Linked DNA regions of Homo sapiens: region 1 is linked to region 2. Evidence: promoter capture Hi-C in human tissues and cell types (Jung and others, 2019). All regions are on one chromosome and are shown on one strand. Each heading gives the region's core, a stretch centred on a gene start or on the middle of the fragment in contact. The rest is flanking DNA. Distances are from core to core; before and after follow the strand shown. Region 1 overlaps PLEK2 (pleckstrin 2). Region 2 holds the start of PLEKHH1 (pleckstrin homology, MyTH4 and FERM domain containing H1).

Region 1 (3,482 bases), core at 439-2,938, 140 kb after region 2:
AAACAAAAAAACAAAGCGACCTGGATGGGAAGGAGCTGAAACTATATCCTATGAGAAATGTGTGAAAGACTTGATGCTTAGACACAGGAAAGAGGACGGAAGGGAGCATGACTAACAGGCCATTTGAGGTAGGCATTAATATCCTGTCATTTCCTAATGTGCCCGGGAGTCCACAGCCAAGTGGCAGAGCTGGGGTTTGTGTTCAGATGGGACTGATTTTAAAGCCTGGGCATTTCCCTCTTCAGTGTAGGGGCTGTCATAGGAGGTGAGTCTTCATCTGTGTGGTTCTAGAAGAGAGAACAGAACTAGTGTGTCCAGGAGGCAGGCCCTACAGTAACTACCTTGTCCACAAGGGAAAGGCTGCAGTGTGAGGCCGCAAGCTTCCTGTCACTGGAGGTGTCCAAGTGAATCTTTAAAGACTACCTGCTATGTGGCCGAGGGCTCAGGGCATTTGGCAGTCACTGTCACCTAGATTCTCCCGGGGCCCCGTCATTTTTGCTGCCCGGCGTCCTCTTGCTCTGCCTGAGTGCTGGCCTGACTGGCTCTCTCTTCCCACAGCTCCTCATTAAGCTGAAGACTCAAACATCCACGGAGTACTTCCTGGAGGCCTGTTCTCGAGAGGAGCGGGATGCCTGGGCCTTTGAGATCACCGGGGCTATTCATGCAGGGCAGCCGGGGAAGGTCCAGCAGCTGCACAGCCTGAGAAACTCCTTCAAGCTGCCCCCGCACATCAGCCTGCAGTGAGTGCCCCACTTGCCGGGCTCTGTGGCAGCCTCTCCTGCCTGTGTTGGGTGGGCAGGGGACCCTGCCCCTTGGGGGGGCTCTGTGCTTGCTGCACAGTCTGGCTGGTGCCACCACGGTGCTTCAGGGCCTTCAGCTGTTCCTGTCCTGTGTATATTATTTTCTCTGCTTGGGAGTGGCCCTACCTACCTGCCCCATTCCTATGGGATCTCTCGTGGCTCTTGCCACCTCTGCACACCTCCATGACACAAGACCCCCATTCCATTTCAGCCAGGGTGCTCAGGGCTGTGTCACAGCTCCCCCAAAATCTCGTCTTAGTCTGTTTTCTGTTACTTATAACAGAATACCTGAAATTGGGTAACTCATAAGGAGGGATTTATTTCTTATCATTATAGAGGCTGGGAAGTCCAAGGTTGAGGGGCTGCATCTGGTGAGGGCCTTCTTGCTGGTGGGAGTTCTCTGCAGAGTCCTGAGGCAGTGCAGGGCATCACACAGTGAGGGGGCTGAGCATGCTAACATGCTTGCTCCGATCTCTCTTCCTCTTATAAAGCCACCAGTCCCATTCCCATGATAATTCATTAATTCATTTAACCCATTAATCCATTCACAAGGGCAGAGCCCCCATGACCCAATCACCTCTTAAAGGCATCACCTCTCAATATTGCCACATTGGGGATTTTCAACATGAGTTTTGGGATAAACATTCAAACCACAGTAAATCTCCACCAACCTCCCAGGCAAAAGAACTGTTAACACCCATCAAAGATGTATGAATCCATTCCTGGGCTCACAAAAACTCCCCACCAGGCACTGAAATCTTGACTGTACACCTCCTATGGGTCTAGGTGGGTGCAGGGAGGATCAGCTGCAGATAAAGGTGGGTAGGCAGGTGGGTTTAAAGATAGTTGGAAAAGTAGCTGAGGGGGTTTGGACTTAATGCAGGGGATCACAGAGAACCATGTGGGCTACTGTGCACTCTTGGGGCTTTTTTGTTTTTCTTTTTTGGGGACAGGGTCTCACTCAGTTGCCCGGGCTGGAGTGCAGTGGCTCGATCATGGCTCACTGCAGCCTTGACCTCCTGGGCTCAAGTGATCCTCCCACCTCAGTATCCCAAAGCACTGGGATGACAGGTATGAGCCACTGTGCCCAGCATACACTCTTGTTTGTAAGTTAAAAGTCACACCTCTTTGGTTTTACTACAAAAGCAGTGTGTGTCTGGCATAGAAATATAAGAACATTTAGATAAGGAGAAGAAAAGAAATGTCTGAAAATCCTGCCTCTCAAATTTGGAGGCATAACTGAACACCCTGTTCTGTGGTGAGGAGGTATAAACAAACCTACCTGCAAGGGGAGCTGAGAGGCAGGAGAAAGAGGCTGACAATTCCAGTTTCTCACAAAGAGGCATTTAATAGGGACTTACAAACAGAAGTGATGTCCCTGCTGGCCTAGAGACAGCGAATCACCACACTTGTCTTCCAGAAAATATCCTTTATATAGCAAGCTTTTTTGGGAAAATGTGCAGCTAGTGGTGCCTCAGACTTTCTTGTGAAACCTGTGACCACTGGGGAGGTTAGATAAACATCTTTATGAGGGGTGAGCCGTGCTATGGGAACACCGTGGTATGCAGGAGTCAAACATCCATCATCAGGCCAGGCACGGTGGCTCACACCTGTAATCCCAGTACTTTCGGAGGCTGAGGCAGGCGGATCACTTGAGGTCAGGAGTTCGAGACCAGCCTGGTCAACATGGTGAAACCCCATCTCTACTAAAACTACAAAAATTAGCCAGGTGTGGTGGCAAATGTCTGTAATCCCAGCTGCTCCGGAGGTTGAGGCAGGAGAATCACTTGAACCTGGGAGGCGGAGGTCACAGTTAGCCGAGATCTTGCCACTGCACTCCAGCCTGGGTGACGGAGCGAGACTCTGTCTCAAAAAACAAACAAAAAACAACAACAACAAAAATCAATCATCATGGCGGCTTCACTTCAAGATGGCATCACTCTTGCCATTCAAAAGGCTGCTTTCCTACACCCCTTTTCTTTGTGATGTGTGTCACACCATTTGCCACTTGCTTTATACCCTTAGCAGTGACTCAGGACCCTCCCTTATACCTGCCCGCGTGATGAGGGTTCCCTCTCCTTTGCCTTCCCTTCCATGTAGTCGCATTGTGGACAAGATGCACGATAGCAACACCGGAATCCGTTCAAGCCCCAACATGGAGCAGGGAAGCACCTATAAAAAGACCTTCCTCGGTGAGCCTGTCCCCCAGGGCCGGGCTGGGCAGTCAAGCTGGGACATGGTGATGCAGGGCTCAGCTGTGTGCTTGACCGCCCTGTATTGAGGTCAGAGCTGCCTGCTGGGCAACAGGCTAGCCTGAGATGGCCATGTGTGGGTGTGCAGCCACGGCTCTATGCAGCAGGTGTGGCCTTCAGTCTGCTCTTGCGTAGAGCCCTGAGGCTGCCCAGAGGGCCAAGGTCAGTGAGGTCATTGGCCACACACCCCAAGGACGCTGGTCCATCACCCATCGCCTGACTGGTGCTGCCCTTGGCCAGGCTCCTCCCTGGTGGACTGGCTCATCTCCAACAGCTTCACGGCCAGCCGTCTGGAGGCGGTGACCCTGGCCTCCATGCTCATGGAGGAGAACTTCCTCAGGCCTGTGGGTGTCCGAAGCATGGGAGCCATTCGCTCTGGGGATCTGGCCGAGCAGTTCCTGGATGACTCCACAGCCCTGTACACTTTTGT
Region 2 (3,366 bases), core at 298-2,797:
TGATGTACACTTTAAATTGCCAGACATTTCTTTGGATTTTTTTTTTTCTATCAGGAATGGGAGGAACATGCTCTCCCCTACAGCTGGTGACTTCTGAAGAGGGCAGAAGAGGCTCCACATTTTTTCAGCTTAGTTGTTAGTTTCAATGAGTTTGGGGCCACAGGCTGCACCCCACAATTGCCCAACTCTGAGCAGGCCCCCTCAGCAGTCTATGGGAAGGTGGTAGAAGTGGACTGAACCATACGTTAGGAATTTAGGAGGCTTGGGTTTCAGTTATGGCTCTTCCACTTTTTAGCTATGTGACCATGGGCATATCACAACAATTTTTTTTTTAACAGACAGGATCATCAGCCTCCCAAGTTAGCTGGGACTACAGGCCCACACCACCACACCCAGCTAATTTTTAAATTTTTATTTATTTGTAGACACAGGGTCTCCCTATGTTGCCCAGGCTGGTCTTGAACTCCTGGCATCAAGCTCTCCTCCTGCCTTGGCTTCCCAAAGTGCTGGGATTACAGGCATAAGCCACTGCAACTGGCCTAAATCACAACTTTTCAGAGTCCCAGCTTCCTCCTTTGGAAAAATGGGGCCAATAATATGCAGAAACACTAATACCGATGTTCTATAAAGCGTTCAGTGATGGTACTAGCCCTATACACAGTGTCTGTCACATAGAAGACAGTCCAAACAGTTTGATGAAGGAACTGATAATTCTCCCACTGAATTTTTTAAATGGTCTTTCAAGTGTTTTACCTGAACCAAGGCTCTGTCTTGGAAGAGTTTTATGAGGTGGATTCATAGTAAAAGCTATGGAGGAGATATCCTGGCAAGCAGAAATCCCACAAGGAGAGGAGTTTCCTTCCAGATGAGGCTCTTCACCGCCTCTGCCACCCCCACTAAGGCCCCTGGTTCCTGGTGACCGAGTCCTCGCTAAGACTCCTAGGACACAATGCTCTGTGTCATTCGGCGCCCAACCTGTTTTCTTTTCTGCTTGAATGACCTGCTCCTAGGAGTCGAGCCTGAGCCATAGGGTCCCAAAGACAACACTCAGAAATCACAGAAGAAATAACCTGAGGTGAGATGGGGAGGGGTGCGGGAAGGGGTGAAAGGGAGCGAGCACCGATAGCAAGGTGGCAGCCTGCACGTCCGCTCCGAGGGCCCTTCCCAGGAGCGGCTGGATCTGACCGATCCCCAAGTCCAGGTACTCCCGGGGGAGGCTCCTCCTGGCCTCGCGGCGCGAGTCCCCTGGGGCGCCCGGCTTCCCAAGCCAGACCCGCGCTCCAGCGCTCCCCGCCGCTGGGAGCTCGCTTCCAGGTAGGGAGGCACCTGCTCCGGATCGTCCTCTGGGCCCGAGGGGCCGTCCCCCGCGCGCAGCCTGACGCCCTCCGCCGCGGCGCAGCCCCAGCCCACCACAGCGGCGGGAGCGCGGGTCGCTCACCTCCAGCGAGCTCGCGGCCGTCCCCGCCGCGCACTGGGCACACGGGCGCCCTCGGGCCGCCGCCGCAGCCGACCTTGCGTCGCTCTCGCCGGAGTCCCGGGCTGCCGCCGGTTCTCCCCTCCCCGGCAGCAGGGGTCGTGGGCTGCGGGGCGGGGCGAGGCTGGAGCGGGAGGGGTGCCCGCGGGCTCGCTGCACAAAGCCCGGCCGAGCCTTGCTGCGCCCCATTCAACGCTCCGCCGGGCGCCCTCCTCCCCTCGGCTCCCCGCCCGCTCCTTAAAGGCAGAGCGCTGGGCTCAGCTCTCCAGGCAGCTCGCGGAGAGGCACAGGAAATGACCTCAGCAGGCTCCAGCCTCCCACTTCTCCGCACCGCTGGGCTCGTCCCTGGGGCGGCAGGGAGGGCGGCGGGGTGTCCCGGGCGCCGGCCCGGAGCTCTCCGAGGAGGCCGCACCAGCTGCCGCAAGGGGTGGCCAGAGCGCCCCGGGGATCTGCTTGACCCCAAATAGCGGGGGACCCTCGCGGGCTGCGGGACAAGACCAGACCGTCTCCGCCAAAGGTTCCAGCATTCTCCTGGCCACCTGTGGGAACTGTAACGTCTGGATATTTGGAACAGAAGTCCATATTTCAGTCTGGCAGACCAAATGTTCTGAGTTGCAATTTGCAGGAGAAAAAGAAAAAATAAGTTACGACAGCCCAGAGAGTAACTTACTTGCTTATTTTCTGGTCTCGCTATGTTGCCCAGGCTGGACTCGAACTCCGGAGCTCAAGTGATCTTCCCGCCTGGGCCTCCAGGCCGGCTTATGTATATGTTATTTTAAAGGAGGGCCCAGGAGGACCCTGGCTGCCAGGCAGTTTGCAGGGCAGTCATCAGCGTGCCCATGTGCTCCTCGTTCTCAGACATTTGCAGATCTCAGATCGCCCAAAGCAATCTCATACCCAGAGGGGTTGGAAAACTCAACATTTGGCTAGGTGAGCCTGGAGTAAAGAAGATGCAAATAGAGACCATTGCAGGGAGGGATCCACACTTCAAAACAGAGCCTTCTTCCTCAACCCTGCAGGCTCTCTGTCAGTGAAGGACTGAACAGAAGCAAAATACCATCAGCGCCTGTTTCTCCAAATGGTCCTTGGAAGACTCATCCCAGGCACCATGAAGAACACCCCCACCCTGGGTTTGAATCTGAATCTCTAACTAAAGTACCCCAGGCCATTCTCACGTAGAAGTTTTGAGAGCCCAGACACTAAGGAAAGCTGGTAGTGCAGGAGGCCAAACGTGAGAATTTAACTGGGCCAATGGGACTTCAATGGCTGAACTTGCAAACAGCTTTATAGCTCGTGGGGATTGGGATAGATTAGCCCCATTTTGTGGGACAATGCTCAGGCTATCCACTTCAACATTCCAGAAGTTGCATAAGGAAGCCCAAAAACACGTTCTCTGGATTTTGCTAAGAAGACATTAATTCATTCATTCACTTTTTTTTTTTTTTTTTTTTTGGACATAGGTTCTTCTTGTTCTGTTCTCCAGGCTGGATTGCAGTGGCACAATCATAGCTCACTGTAACTTGAACTCCTGGGCTCAAGCAATCCTCCCATCTCAGCCTCATGAACAGCTGGGACTATAGGCACATGCTACTATACCCAGCAAAAAAAAAAAAAAAAATTTTTTTTTTTTTTTAGTAGAGGTGGGGTCTCAAACTCCTGGACTCAAGAAATCCTCCTGCCTCGGCCTCCCAAAGTGCTGGGATTACAGGGATGAGCCACCGCACCTCGGCCCAGAACTCATTTAATATAACTTTGTTATATAGTGAAAAGAGACGCACCATGGAGAGTGGAATGGGAGGAGCATGCTCTCCCCTATAGCTGGTTACTTCTGTAGAGGGCAGAAGAGACTCCACATTTTTTTCAGCTCAGTTGTTACTTTCAATGAGTTTGGG

The links. The method cuts DNA at HindIII sites, captures the fragments that hold promoters and counts their contacts. A contact is called where the count stands out against the background at its distance.
Region 1: a contact is called between a fragment that was not itself captured here and the fragment with the promoter of PLEKHH1 in region 2, in 1 of the 25 tissues and cell types used here (H1 embryonic stem cells).

Annotation. Positions count from the first base shown.
Region 1 is chr14:67,392,660-67,396,141 of GRCh38, reverse strand. PLEK2 (pleckstrin 2) reads left to right here. Exons shown (of 9, transcript NM_016445.3): 3 at 559-740; 4 at 2,901-2,992; 5 at 3,293-3,480. It also overlaps a transcript of GPHN not described here. Among named protein-coding and RNA genes, the nearest start is that of PLEK2, 18 kb to the left of the region's middle. The HindIII fragment of the contact is 4,611 bases long and covers 1-3,482 here.
Region 2 is chr14:67,531,471-67,534,836 of GRCh38, reverse strand. It overlaps PLEKHH1 (pleckstrin homology, MyTH4 and FERM domain containing H1), which reads right to left and starts at 1,547. Exons shown (of 29, transcript NM_020715.3): 1 at 1,439-1,547. It also overlaps a transcript of GPHN not described here and a transcript of TMEM229B not described here. RefSeq lists a silencer at 1,454-1,923. The HindIII fragment of the contact is 40,466 bases long and covers 1-3,366 here.